3 separate regions of the Homo sapiens genome follow, and all the other regions are linked to region 1. The links are contacts of gene promoters, found by promoter capture Hi-C in blood cells and fetal thymus (Javierre and others, 2016). All regions are on one chromosome and are shown on one strand. The core of a region is centred on a gene start or on the middle of the fragment in contact, and the rest is flanking DNA. Distances in the headings are between cores, read along the strand shown. Region 1 holds the start of RNH1 (ribonuclease/angiogenin inhibitor 1). Region 2 overlaps RIC8A (RIC8 guanine nucleotide exchange factor A). Region 3 holds the start of SIRT3 (sirtuin 3).

What was found. Contacts are between HindIII fragments. The CHiCAGO score rates a contact against its expected background, and 5 or more counts as called.
Region 2: a fragment that was not itself captured here is called in contact with the fragment with the promoter of RNH1 in region 1 in 1 of 17 cell types (fetal thymus); the score reaches 6.8 in fetal thymus.
Region 3: the fragment with the promoter of SIRT3 here is called in contact with the fragment with the promoter of RNH1 in region 1 in 6 of 17 cell types (fetal thymus, non-activated CD4 T cells, naive CD4 T cells and 3 more); the score reaches 8.9 in fetal thymus.

The regions. Positions count from the first base shown.
Region 1 is chr11:504,930-509,480 of GRCh38, reverse strand. RNH1 (ribonuclease/angiogenin inhibitor 1) reads left to right here and starts at 2,239. Exons shown (of 11, transcript NM_203387.3): 1 at 2,239-2,368; 2 at 4,485-4,551. It also overlaps a transcript of LRRC56 not described here. RefSeq lists a cis regulatory region at 2,885 and an enhancer at 2,801-2,970. The HindIII fragment of the contact is 5,455 bases long and covers 277-4,551 here.
Region 2 is chr11:210,020-214,570 of GRCh38, reverse strand. RIC8A (RIC8 guanine nucleotide exchange factor A) reads right to left here. Exons shown (of 10, transcript NM_001286134.2): 4 at 3,909-4,000; 5 at 3,222-3,372; 6 at 2,060-2,155; 7 at 1,812-1,956; 8 at 1,590-1,734; 9 at 1,153-1,272; 10 at 1-341. The coding sequence ends at 221. Among named protein-coding and RNA genes, the nearest start is that of MIR6743, 3.0 kb to the right of the region's middle. The HindIII fragment of the contact is 373 bases long and covers 2,480-2,852 here.
Region 3 is chr11:234,216-238,766 of GRCh38, reverse strand. It overlaps SIRT3 (sirtuin 3), which reads left to right and starts at 2,425. Exons shown (of 7, transcript NM_012239.6): 1 at 2,425-2,719. The coding sequence starts at 2,439. PSMD13 (proteasome 26S subunit, non-ATPase 13) reads right to left here and starts at 1,791. Exons shown (of 13, transcript NM_002817.4): 1 at 1,623-1,791. The coding sequence starts at 1,717. RefSeq lists enhancers at 1,540-1,779, 1,940-2,129 and a silencer at 2,280-2,359. The HindIII fragment of the contact is 9,250 bases long and covers 1-4,551 here.

The DNA.
Region 1 (4,551 bases), core at 990-3,489:
CTGGCCGTGCGCTCAGCACCTATACATACCTGGGCACCTTCCCCACAAGGTGTCACAAAAGGGAGCCCAACAGCCATTTTAAACATTTTCTTCACTCTTATGAGAATTGCCACGAACAAATCTAAGAGATCATGGCAAAGAAAAGAATGAAATGAAACCAGAACATTTCAGCAGCTTTTGCAAAGATGTCAAGAGAACCAGTCCAGGAGTCAGACTGGCGGCATCCTTCCAGCTTCTTGTCATGAATTCTAAACCTCACATCCAGACTCCAAAGCTTAGAGAGTTAAAGAATCAGCTACTGGTCACCAAGCTCACGTGTGCAGGATGAGGGTCACAGCCAGGTTGGCTGCCTTCCAGCCCTGAGCTTTCTTGGGGGTGTGTGTGTGTGTGTGTGAACCACCTTCTTTTTGAGACGGAGTTTCTTTTTTCTTTTTTGAGATGGAGTTTCGCTCTTGTTGCCCAGGCTGGAGTACAGTGGCACGATCTTGGCTCACTGCAACCTCTGCCTCCTGGGTTCAAGTGGTTCTCCTGCCTCAGCCTCCTGAGTAGCTGGGATTACAGGCATGCACCACCATGCCTGGCTAAGTTTTTGTAATTTTAGTAGAGATGGGGTTTCATCATCTTGGCCAGGCTGGTCTTGAACTCCTGACCTCAGGTGATCTGCCTGCCTTGGCCTCCCAAAGTGTTGGAATTACAGGTGTGAGCCACCGCGCCCAGCCAGAGTTTCATCTTGTTGCCCGAACTGGAGTGCAATGGTGTGGTCTAGGCTCGCTGCAACCTCTGCTTCCCGTGTTCAAGCGATTCTCCTGCCTCAGCCTCCCAAGTAGCTGGAATTACAGGTGCCCACCACCATGCCTGGCTAATTTTTGTATTTTTAGTAGAGATGGGGTTTCACCACGTTGGCCAGGCTGGTCTTGAACTCCTGACCTCAGGTGATCCACCCTTCTCGGTCTCCCAAAGTGTTGGGGTTACAGGTGTGAGCCACCACGCCCGGCCAGAACCACCTTCTTTAAAGATGATCAGGCCGGGTGTAGTGGCTTATGCCAGTAATTCCAGCGATATGGGAGGCTGAAGCAGGAGGATCACTTGAGCCCAATTCAAGACCAGGCTGGGCAACACAGGGAGACCTCTTCTCTACATAAAATACAACAATTAGCCAGGCGTGCTGGCGCCTGTGGTACCAGCTACTTGGGAGGCTGAGGCGGGAGGATCACTGGAGTCCGGGAGGTGGAGGCTGCAGCGAGCTGGGATCGCGCCACTGCAGTACAGCCTAAGCAGTGGAGTGAGACCCTGTCTCGAAAACAAATACCTAATAAAGGCAGTCAGAGGAGAGGTTTAGCAAATTGCTAAAGAACAAATCTGAGATACCGTTAGTTTCCTTACTTGCAATCTTCATCTGCCAAAATGTCAATTCTGTGAATTGCGGACTAGTCAAAAACTTAAAGAAAACCCACTTTTGTGGAGGTGGGGTCGCTTTGCGTTTCCCAGGCTGGTCTGGAACTCGGCCTGCGCCCCTCAGTGCCAGGGCTCCAGGCGACGCTCGGGTGTCGGCAGCAGAGTGGACGCAGGAGCAGCTCGGACCGCGCTCAGAACACTCGGGACGAGGCCGCGGCTCCGCAGGCCTTGCGGGCTGGGGTCCCACGAAACAAAGGCGGCAGCCAGTGGCCAGGACGGGCAGCGTGGTTCACGGGGCCGTGGCTCCCTCGGGGGTCGCGAGCTCGGCGCAAACGAGCCCCTCTACCAAGGTCGCCTAGAGTCGCGACCCCGACATGCGGAGCCGCCCCAGGGGGGTTTCTCCCGGGTCCCTCCTGTCCCGAGGCGGCCGCTTTCTCCGGGGGCCGCGCCCCGCGCCCCAGCAAGGCCCGACCCGCGCCTGCGATTCCGCCCCCAAGGCGCTGCCGCACCGGGCCCCGGCCTCTTCCTCCGAGGATTCTCAGGAATTGCTGAGACTTGCGTGCCAGTGCGAGGCCCACAACACGCACACGCGCCCGCGCCCGCCAGACCCCGCCCCCGGCACCAAGCCCCGCCTACTGGGGGAGACCACGCCCCCAAGCGAGACCTCCCTCACCGAGCCACGCCCCACCAGGCCCCGCCGCTGCGCCAAGACTGTGCTTAGCCGAGCCCCGCCCGCCGGGCCCCGCCCCGACCCCGAGACTACTCCCGCCAGGCCCCGCCCCCGCGCCGAGCCCCGCCCAGTAGTCCCCGCCCACGCACCTGACCACGCCCACGAGCCGGCTCGAACACGCCCGCGCCGCTGACTGGCGGGTGGGGTTGTCGACACGTTCAACCCGTTCTGCTGGCTCGAGAACGAAGTAGGCCGTCTCGCTCTGGGTCTCCAGGCCCGCGACCGTCCGCCAGTCGTCCCGAGGTCAGTAGCTCCAGCGGTGCGTCAGCGTCTAGCCAGGCCTCGCCCACGCCGGCCTTGGTCGGGCTTCTTGTAGACGCGGGCCTGGCGCTATTGAGGCCGTTGCTGCGCGGGCGAGTGGCGCGCTCCCGTGGCGGGGCGGGGTCGGGCGGGGCAGGGGTCCGGGGCTATCGAGGCGGGGCCGAGGTTGCGCTGGGCAGCTGCGCCGCCGGGCGGACGTGGCGCGCCTTGAGGACGTCATCGCGGTGCACGCTCCCCTTTGGGGCTTGCCGGAAGTCCTTGCCCGGGGCGCGGGGCTGCGCCTGCGTGGTTCGTCCTCACGTGGCCGTCAAGCCCTCTAGTGCCTTAGATTCCAGCGAGCTACGCAAGCAATCCTGGCCCAGCCGAGCTTGCTTCCCCAAATCCCGTAATCCTTGACCTTATTCCCCCAAAGAAGCGGCCTCCCGGGAAGGAGCGCCCTGGCGGAGAAGACTCGAACGGCTCCCACAGCCGGGCGTTGGGGGAAAGGTGGGCGGTCTTGGTCGTGCGAGGTCGGGGAGGGAGGGTCCTCCGCTCTCCATTGCGGAGCTTCGCTCCGGGACCACCGGGGGACCGGACGCCGGGCCGCGAAGCTGCCGCCTGGGGCTGCGGGGAGGAGAGCAACATAACTGGAATGGCACTTAGGGGCCGGTGTCAGGGTTGTCACCGGGGTTGGCGGAAATGACGAAGGGGCCCCAGGCACGTCGTGTTACTGGGCGAGGTTCCAGCCAAGGTGCCCACGCGCCTTGGGGGAAACCAGAGGACTTCTGCACCGTTTCCCGAGGACAGTTTGGCAGTGTTTCAGAAGGGCCTTAGAACCAGGCAGGCCCCCTTCTAGGATGGTGGAAAGCCTAAAGATCTGAAAACGGTCTCAAGTGTCGTCTTAGCGATTGGCTGACTAAACCGAATGCAAGCCGGAGACTGCACACGATGTTGCCGTTAACAGTTACACTGGGCCGGGCAGTCAGAGGCAGGCGGATCACCTGAGGTCAGGAGTTCGAGAACAGCCTGGCCAACATGGTGAAAACCCGTCTCTACTAAAAATACAAAATTAGCCGGGCGTGGTGGCAGGCGCCTATAATCCCAGCTACTTGGGAGGTTGAGGTAGGAGAATGGCTTGAACTCAGGAGGCGGAGGTTGCGGTGAGCCGAGATCGTGCCACTGCACTCCAGCCGGCTGACAAGAGCGAAACTCCTTCTCAAAAAAAAAAAAAAAAAAAAAAAGTTACATTAGGCTGGGTGCGCTGCAGCCTGTAATCCCAGCACTTTGGGAGGCCGAGGCGGGCGGATCTCTTGAGCCCAGGAGTTTGCGACCAACATACTGAGTTTGGCCAAAATAGTGAGACCCCCGTCTCTACAAAAGATAGAAAAAATTAGCCAGTTGCGGTAGTGAACGCTTGTAGTCCCAGCTACTTGGGACGCTGAGGGAGGAGGAGCACTTGAGCCCTGGAAGAGGAGGCTGCAGTGAGCTATTTTCTCATCCCTGCTATAACGAATTTGTCACAGGCTGTTTTATAGGCCTGGAGCTCAGAAGCCCGAAGTGAGTTTTAGGAGGTTAAAATCAAGGTGTTGGCAAGGGTAGTTCCTTCTGGAGTTTCCCAAGGAGAATCTGCTTCTTTTCCTCTTCCAACTTCTAGAGGCCACCTTCTTCCATCTTCAAAACCTACTGTCTCTGCATAAGAACTCTCATGATTATATGCCGGCCGCCCAGACACCCCAGGGTAGCCTTCACATCTCAATATTCTTAATATTTGCAAAGTCCCTTTTGCCACTTAAGGTAACACCACAGGTTTGGAGATTAGGAGGTGGACATCTTTCAGGGCCATTCTTATTTTAAAAAATGTACTGTCGATAAGAATAGTTAAAATGTAAAATATTTGAAGGGATTTATTCTGAATCGAATATGAGTGACCGCGGCCGGTGACACAGCCCTCAGGGGATCCTGGGAACATGTGCCCAAGGTGGTTGGGGCAGTTTGGTTTTACATGTTTTAGAGAGACATGAGGCATTAATGAAATACATTTAAGATATCCATTGGTTTGGTCCAGAAAGGCGGGACCAAACAAAAAAAAAAAGATTTTGAACATGCTTCCCGAGCTCAGGCATGAAGAACTCTTGACTGACAGAAACGGAGGGTGTGTCCAAAGTTTTGAGGACGGCCGAGCGGCG
Region 2 (4,551 bases), core at 1,417-3,916, 300 kb after region 1:
AGCCTGAGTTCTAGCACAAGAAGACCGTTGCAGTCCAGAGATGAGAAACTGGACCAGAGGCAAATCATGAACAGAACGGGAGTCAAGAGAAGGGGTTTCTAAGATGGAGAAGTGGGGGCGGGTGTGGATCCAGTGGGATGTGGCTTCCCCAGGTTGCAACCCCAAGGAAGTCTCTGGAAGCAGCACCAGTCCTGATGGGGGAGCAGAAGAGCTGCCATCCTCAGTCAGGGTCCGAGTCAGGGTCCGAGGAGAGCTGCTGCTCCATAGTCTCGCACATGGCATCCTGCAGGGACGTAAGATGACCCCGGGGACTCATCCCCATTGGCTGGATGACTCTGTTCCTGTTGGGGAAAGGTGCAGTGGGGCTGGGGAAGGGGCCCAGTTGGCCAGGCAGGGGTCCTACTCACCCGTGGCTGCTACCTTCCTCTCTACCAAGTAGGCTGCTCCCATTTACTGGGGAAGCCTGGTTGGACCTTCTGTTAACTGGGCCCAAACCCTAACTGCTGCCTCCTGGCTTTAAGCAGTTTCCTATTTTAAACATCTAAATTGGCCTTAAGCAGGCTCTTAATTTGGACACTGGGCCATCTCCAATAAATCTGGCGACATTAGTCTCTTTTTTTTTTTTGAGACGAAGTCTCACTCTGTTGCCAGGCTGGAGTGCGGTGGCACAATGTCAGCTCACTGCAAGCTCTGCCTCCTGGGTTCAAGTGATTCCCCTGCCTCAACCTCCCGAGCAGCTGGGACTACAGGCGCCCACCACCACGCCCAGCTAACTTTTTTTTTGTATTTTAGCAGAGATGGGGTTTCACCATGTTGGCCAGGATGGTCTCGATCTCCTGACCTTGTGATCTACCTGCCTCAGTCTCCCAAAGTGCTGGGATTATAGGCGTGAGCTACCACGCCCGGCCTTAGACAGTCTCTTAATTTCTCTGGGCCTCAGTTATCATCTGTAAAAGGGGCACAATACTGATCTCAATATACCCATCCCCTGGGGGATTTCCTCCAGGGCAAGTGATTTCAAACGTGAGCAATGCAACCTAATACCAGGATCCTAAGCTCTCCTCTGATCCTACCTCCTGGGGCTCACAAGACAGGATGTGGGTCAGCTCTCCCTTCTCCCAGCTGCAGGCCCCTCCTCCTCATGCCACACACCTGGAGAGCTTGTCAAACATGGTCACCAGCTTCATGGCCTCGTGCTCCTTCTGCTCCTCTGTCATGCCCTCCATAGGGTTAGGCGGCTTCTCCTCCACCCTCCCGGTCACAGGGTTTATGCTGTTTCCCAGTGGGTGGAATGTGGGGAATGCATTAGTGACTCTCCAGGACAGGAGGCAAGCCACCTATTTTCCCAGTGGGGTGAGGTGGGCAAGGCAACTGCAGGAAGAGGCCTCCCTCCAGAAGCGGCACAGGTAACCAGCTCCTGCCATCTGCCACCTTCTGGTATCCCAGATAGCACTTAGGAACAGGTGCTTGATTCTGGAAGCTCTTGCCCATTTGTCATCCTGTCCCACCCTACAGGGGTCCACATGGGTGTGGAAGCAGGGACTATGGGGCTGTGAGTGGAGACCCGAGGGTGTGTTGGGGGTACACACCTGGCTTTGGCTTCCTTGTACTCATCTGTGTCTGTGTCCTCATCCTCTGAGTACTGGCCCTCGGGCCGGCCTCCTGCCATGAGGCCCCTGGCAGCCAGAAGGCCAGCAGCATTCCCATAGCCTGTGTACTTGATGAATCGGGGCACTGAGGGGCAAGGCAGAGGTCAGTGTGCAAGCCTGGCTGAGGTGGGGTGGGCTGGGACCTGGGTCTCCATAACTCACCACTCTCAGAGCACAGGACAAACAAGAACTCGGCAGCCACCCTCTTCACATCTGTGTCCAGGTGTGTCATGAGGCGGACAAGCTTGTTCCGCAGCATCTCCCCAACCTCAGGCCGTGTCCTCACATCCCGCAGAGGGGGCAGCACCTGGGGAGGTGGCCATCCCTAAGCTTGGGCTTAGAGCAGCCAAGGGTCTGTGATCAGGGCCGAAACCACATCCCCCAGGAGCACCAGCTCCTCAGCCTTATACCTGGGCCTTCAGGAACTTCCTGGCTGGGCGGTGCATCCGGGCACATTCAGTCAGCACGCTCAGCACGGGAGCTACACTCTCCTTCAGCCTGTGTGTCTGTAGAGGATTCTCTGTCACTGGGGCTATGCCCCTGCCTAACTTGTGACTGGCACAGAGTTACACCTCCCCACCACCCCTTCCCACCAACATACACAACAGCTGGTCCTGGCGGCAGAGGTTTGGGAAGAGGCCCCTCTGCAGTTAGTCAGCAGAAGGCCAAGAGTGGGTGGTGGGTGTCTGTGTCACTTTTGAAAAGGACAGGGATAGAGCGTAACTCAGAGGTACTCGTAAGCTTTGTGACTTGGGAGAAATAACTGCTTTAAGTCTAATTACTTCAACTATAAACCAGAGCTGGGAAGAAAACACAAAGCAATTAAAGCTTTAGACTCGCACACACATTGCCCTCAGATGTTGGTGGCAAAAAGAAACGAGAACCGAATCCCCGCTCTGTGTACTTCGTGGACAGAGCAGGGAGTTCTTGACCCTCCTAGCATAATGTGCCTGGACCCCAGCACCAGCAGTGGCAGCGACGGGCACAGACAACCCCCTAGCTGTGTGTCCAGTGCCAGCTCCCTATCCTGACTGGCTCGCAGGCACCTTGTGTGTCCCTTGCTTAGGCAGGTAGATTCCCAGGAGGTCTACTAAATCTCGGTTTATTGTACTCCAGCCTGCTTTCTGCAAGCTCCTGGAAGATGGTTAGAGCCCCAGCTGTCCAGATGCCCTGTAGTGCAGTCACAGCAATCAGAAGGAAGCTTTGATCTGAGGTTCCTATGGGTCTCCTCAGGATGCTGAGGGACAACTATGCTTGTAATCAAGGGCTGCCTGTGTTTAAGACTTAAAAGTAGGGACTGGGGGGCTTCTCTGGACCACTCAGTAAAGATCCCCAAAGATTTAAGAAGTGAAACCTTCAAGTGTGTGGAAGGTGTCCACATGCTTCTCATGGAGGAAGGGTCTGGCTTCTTGCCAGGCTGGACCACAGAACAACCGGAAGAGTCGCCCATATCACACCACCAAGACAATCTCCACGTACCAGTGTGGACAGTGTGGAAGCACTGACCACATCTGTGCAGGAGAACCAGTGCCAGAGCCACTGGGGGAGCCTGCACAGCCATCCCCAGCCTACCTTGTGCAAACGCTTCTCTAGGAAGATGAGGAGGGCACGAATCACATCCATATTCACTCCCATGAACTCCGTGGAGTCTCCATGTGGCTCCAGGGTGAGGAGAACATCCAGACACTTGAGGGGCAAGTTCCCCAGGAGGTTCACTGCGTGGCTGGGGACAGATGGAGGTAGGGGTTTCAACAGGGCTAATCCCTGAGCACAGGTGCAATCTTTGTGACTCCGCTGAACCACACATTACATGAGCTGGCATCTGAGTCCCAAAGGGGCAGCGCTAGGGACCAAAGCCAAGGGCAGGGACTGATCTGAGAGGCACTGCCACTCAGCTGTACAGTGGGGTCCCCTGGGGAAGTGGGGGCACTGAGACACACTGCCTCCCCGACCCTGTCTGAGCCAAAGCGCCAGACCATCTCTGGAAACCCAGACCAGCCTAGGGGCAGGTAGACCAAAAACGGGGACAAGGAACCAATGTGCCCTAGTAAGTACCATACTGTTGCCACTACCCAAGGCCCAGTTGGCACATTCCTGCCCCCAAATTCATGGCTATGTCCAGTCTCACTCACCCAGACAACGTCAGACTCTCTAGGGTGGGGCCTGGGCTCTCAGGTGGTTCTGGTTCAGAGCCGGGGTTGAGGACGACCATCTAGACATGTGGGCACACTTCCCTCCCAGAAAAAGCCCCATTCTCACCCGTGGAACTCCTCTGTGCGGTCTCCAGCAGTAGCGATCATCACACAGTGCCGGAGAAGGGTCCCCAGGTGTCGGTAAAGGGCAGCGTCTTCCTGACCAAAGAAAGAAGGGTTCCTGTGAGGAGCCCCACTCATCCCACTGCTGCCTGCTGAGGCTCCACTGTCTGTTGCACTCCAGGACTGTGTGGCAATGACTGTGCACCTCCTGTACTGCATACCTGGTCCCCTGGGGTCTTCCTAGGTGACTCTGGGTAGTGCTGGGGGCAAAAGATGACCACTGCTGTCTTCCTAAAAACTCCATGAGTATTCTTCTAAGAGCACTTCCCTGATTAGGAATGCTAACACATACCTTAGGGATGAAGTCACACTCTGTCTCAGCCCCACTCACAGCCTCATGGTGGAGGATCTCTTACAGTCTCCCCAGACACCACACAGCCCTCCTGCCAGGCAGCAAGAGCCAGAAGGGGCCTCTACTTCCCTCAGAAGCCTTTCCTGAGGTCCCAGCCCAGAACTGGCATCTCCTTGGCCTTGTCCCAACAGGCTGGGAGGTCCTGTCCTCTCCATGTCTGACACCCAGAAACCTGAAGGTACCCAGTAGGAAGCAGGTCCAGGAAATGTTGGAGCTGAGTTGAGACCCATCCATG
Region 3 (4,551 bases), core at 1,176-3,675, 270 kb after region 1:
TGAACGGGTAAGTATATATCGCAAATATTTCAAAATTTGAAAAAATACTAAATCCAAAAAAACTTTTGCCCCAATGCATTTCTTTCTTTCTTTTTTGAGACAGAGTCTGACTCTGTTGCCCAGGCTGTAGTGCAGTGGCGCCATCTCGGCTCACTGCAACCTCTGCCTCCCAGGATCAAGTGATTCTCCTGCCTCAGCCTCCCGAGTAGCAGGGATTACAGGCATGAGCCACTGCGCCCGGCCGCCCCAATGCATTTCTGATAAGGGATACTAAATCCATACTAACCAGTCTCTACGGTGTAGCAGAAAGAATGCTAAAGCAGATGTGATAAACCTGAGTTCTTTTCCTGGCTCTGCTATTGAATGGCTATGTCACTTTGAGATCACTTAACTTCTCTAAGACTCAGTTTTCCCAGGTATGAAATGGAGAACATTAATCTAGATTAACTCAAAGGGTTATTGTGAGGTTTCACTGGAAACGAGAACTTTGGAATCATACATATCTAACTTGAGATGCTGGCTCTTCTACCTATTAGCTGAGTATCTCAGGGAAGGCAATTAAAATGAGCTTCAGTTTCCTCCTCTGTGAAAAGGATGAATAAAGGATTAAATAAGCTAATATTTAAAACCTCAGGGACAGTGACATAGCGCTTCATCCAAAACCCAAAGGCTAATATTTAATAACGCAGATAAAATGCTTTGAAAATTACCAAGTGCTATCCAACACAAACCATTATTTGCCAAACATTAATTTGCTCTCAAAAACTGCTAATAGCAGAAGGCTGCTGAATGCTAAACATCATCAAAACATGTATGGAACATCTATGTGAAAGGTATTATATTAAATGCTAGGGTTAACAGGGAGGTTACTACAGGAGATGTATTTTCTATGGAATAGCTCCAGCCCAATGCCAGCAATTTATTCTACTCATATTAAAAGGAGGTTAGTGCTTAGCAAGAATTTAATTGCTCTGCAATTCATCCTGTTTCTAAACAAACCTAAACTTTAAGATCTTTCTAGGGGCAGAAAGCCCATGAGAAATACAATGGAAGGTAAAGACAATGGGACGGCGGAAGTGGTTGCACCCCGTGCAACCAGCTGCAGAATGAATAGGGAAAACAGCAAAGCTGTACTAGCCTCTGGTTTATCAACTCCAGACCATGAGAAAGATAACTGTAGATACAGTTACACTATGACAAGGCTAAGCACGAATCACCAACATGTTTCCCAAAGTGGGTGGTGGCCCTGAAAGTGTGTTTGCTTGTTAGATGGAATCAAGAGCTAAAATCAAAGGCTACTCCTGAACCGTTTTAGTAAGACCCGAGGTAGGAGTTCAGAAGCCTCAGTCTCAGTCCCCCGTTAAGGAAGCAGTGAATCTCAGACCGAAACATCCTGGCTACAGCTCTTGGCCCTCGTGGTCTGTCATCCCTCTTATTCCTCGACCCTGCCACTCAAGGTTCCTCAGCAAACCTTGCCGGCACAGCCGGTCGCTACACGTCCCCGTTTCCCCCCAACTTGGGTCTGGGCGCCCTCAGCCCATCAAGGGTCCGCTCCTCCGCCCGCCTGCCCCCTCCGTCTCCCTCTATCGCCGGGGCCCAGGGCCCGTCTGCTCGGCGCTCACTTCTTCGTGTAGAGCTCCTCCAGACGGTGCCACACAGCGGGCTGCCCGGGCCCGGAGTTCTGGCTCTGCTGTAGGAAGCCCGGTACGTCCTTCATGACAGCAGGAAGACCCCCGGCACAGAAGAACAACCGGGATGTCAGCACCGCGGGGATGGCTGCCGGAAATGCTCACTCACTTCCGGCGCCGAGCGGCGCGGGGCAGGCTGGGAGCGCCGTAGCAGGCCGGGGGCGGGCCCCGCTGGTTGCTCGGTTACAGCGCGTCTCTGCGCTCCGGACAAAACTCTCCGGCGTTTGCAGCCCACTTCCCGCGCACTTGGCTGTGCCATTGAGGCGTCAAAGAGTGTGGGCGCCTGTGGTCGAACCCGCTACGGACTAGCTTTGTGGTGTCAGCCTTTGTGACCCGGAATTGCTCCTGTCAAATGAGGATCTTCCCAGTAGTGTTTTGCGAGGATTAGGTGTAAATATAATGCCTGACCATAGTAAAAGCGCTCAGAAAGTATTAACTATCACCGCCATCCGGGTTGAAAAAGGTGTGAGCGCAGGGTACAGAAATGCTGGCTCCAGGTTTGACCTCCGGGGCGAGAGATGAGACACCAGACTAGGGAACTTCCTCTACTCGCCTCTACGTCTACCTGGGCGCGCCGGAGGCGTCGGCAAGGAGGCGGGGGCGGGGCGCGGAGGCGGGACCGGGGCGCCGGGGGCGGGGGCGGTAGGCGGAGGCGGGGCTGGGGCGCCGGGGGCGGGGGTGGGAGGCGGAGGCGGGGCCGGGGCGCCGGGGGCGGGGCGAGTCCGGAGGACTCCTTGGACTGCGCGGAACATGGCGTTCTGGGGTTGGCGCGCCGCGGCAGCCCTCCGGCTGTGGGGCCGGGTAGTTGAACGGGTCGAGGCCGGGGGAGGCGTGGGGCCGTTTCAGGCCTGCGGCTGTCGGCTGGTGCTTGGCGGCAGGGACGATGTGAGTGCGGGGCTGAGAGGCAGCCATGGGGCCCGCGGTGAGCCCTTGGACCCGGCGCGCCCCTTGCAGAGGCCTCCCAGACCCGAGGTGCCCAGGGCATTCCGGAGGCAGCCGAGGGCAGCAGCTCCCAGTTTCTTCTTTTCGAGGTATTTTGGGCAAGGACAAGCACTTCTTGCGTGTTCGTTGTCGACACCTCGCCCACTCTTTCTCACCTTGCCGTGTTTCCTTTGCGGCATGTCTGGGAGTTTACGTGCGTTCCAACACCGGGGCCTCCGTCTTTATGCTGATCTGTGGACGTCACTTATGGGGGTTTTGTCGTTTATTTCACCATTCCCTCATTGAAATACGTTCTAACCTTTAGTTATTGTGCATCATGCTGTGGTGAATAACCTTGTTGGCACCTCACTGTTTGCATAAATTCCTAGTACTGGGATTGCTAGGTCCAAAAGTATATGCATTTAACGCTTTAATGATCCCTCATAAATGTTGTGCGGTTAATACTCCCACTGGCATGTGATCGTACCCGTCTCCATAGTAATTGCATCTAAGAACTGAGGCTACATAGGAAAAAATCTTAAGGTCCATGGTTGTTAGGTATCAGATGCCCTATAATGGATGAATATTTAAGTAAATAATGGCACATTGACTTGCTGTCTGACACAACTGCTGAAAATGTTGGTGAAAAGTGAGTCTCGAAGTGGTAGCTCACACTTGTAATACCAGCACTTTCGGAGGCTGAGACGGGGATCGCTCGAGGCCAGGAGTTCAAGAGCAGCCTGGGCAACATAACGAGACCCCCATCTCTACCAAAAATTTAAAAATTAGCCGGGCATGGTGGCGCAAGCCTGTTGTCCCAGTTACTCCTGAGACTAAGGCAAGAGGATCCCTTGAGTCCAGGAGTTCAAGGCTGCAGTGAGCTATGATTGAGCCACTGCACTCCAGCCTGGGTGACAGAGCAAGACTCTTATCTACCTGTGGGAAAAAAAAAAGAAAAAAGTTTAATAGATCCTGAAGAGTTGGCCGGGCGCGGTAGCTCACGCCTGTAATCCCAGCACTTTGGGAGGATGAGACGGGTGGATAACGAGGTCAGGAGTTCGAGACCAGCTGGGCCAACATGGTGAAACCCCATTTCTACTGAAATTACAAAAATTAGCCGGGCGTGGTGGCGGGCGCCTGTAATCCTAGCTACTCAGGAGGCGGAGGCAGGAGAATCACTTGAACCCGGAAGGCAGAGGTTGCAGTGAGCCGAGATGGCACCATTGCACTCCAGCCCGGGCGAAAGAGCAAAAACTCCGTCTCAAAAAAAAACAAAGATCCCGAAGAGTCAGTCGTTCATCCAAGAAGCCCTGACTGAGCTCTTATTCTGTGCCAGACTCTGTTCTAGGTGCTATGGATGGAGCAGGGACCAGGACCTACAAACACGTGGAGCGCATTCTAATATCTGTGATACTCTGCAAAACTGTTAAAACAAATCCTTGCGGCCGGGCGCGGTGGCTCACGCCTGTAATTCCAGCACTTTGGAAGGCCGAGACGGGCGGATCACGAGGTCAGGAGATCGAGACCATCCTGGCTAACACAGTGAAACCCCGTCTTTACTAAAAATACAAGGAAATTAGCCAGGCGTGGTGGCGGGTGCCTGTAGTCCCAGCTACTCGGGAGGCTGAGGCAGGAGAATGGCGTGAACCTGGGAGGCGGAGCTTGCAGTGAGCCGAGATCGCGACACTGCACTCCAGCCTGGGCAACAGAGCGAGACTCCGTCTCAAAACAAAACAAAACAAAACAAAACAAAAATCCTTGCTACCACTGGCCCTAAAGCAGGAGGCATAGGGCTGCGTGTGAGGAGTAGTCCATTGCATGGGCTTCCTCCAGTTTGGCTTTGGATTTTTGAGCTCTCTGAATTTGTTGTTTGTGTCCTTTGCACAGTGTCCCTCCCAGGTTGCACCCATGCCTGCCCCTCAGGGTCCCCCACTCCCAGTGA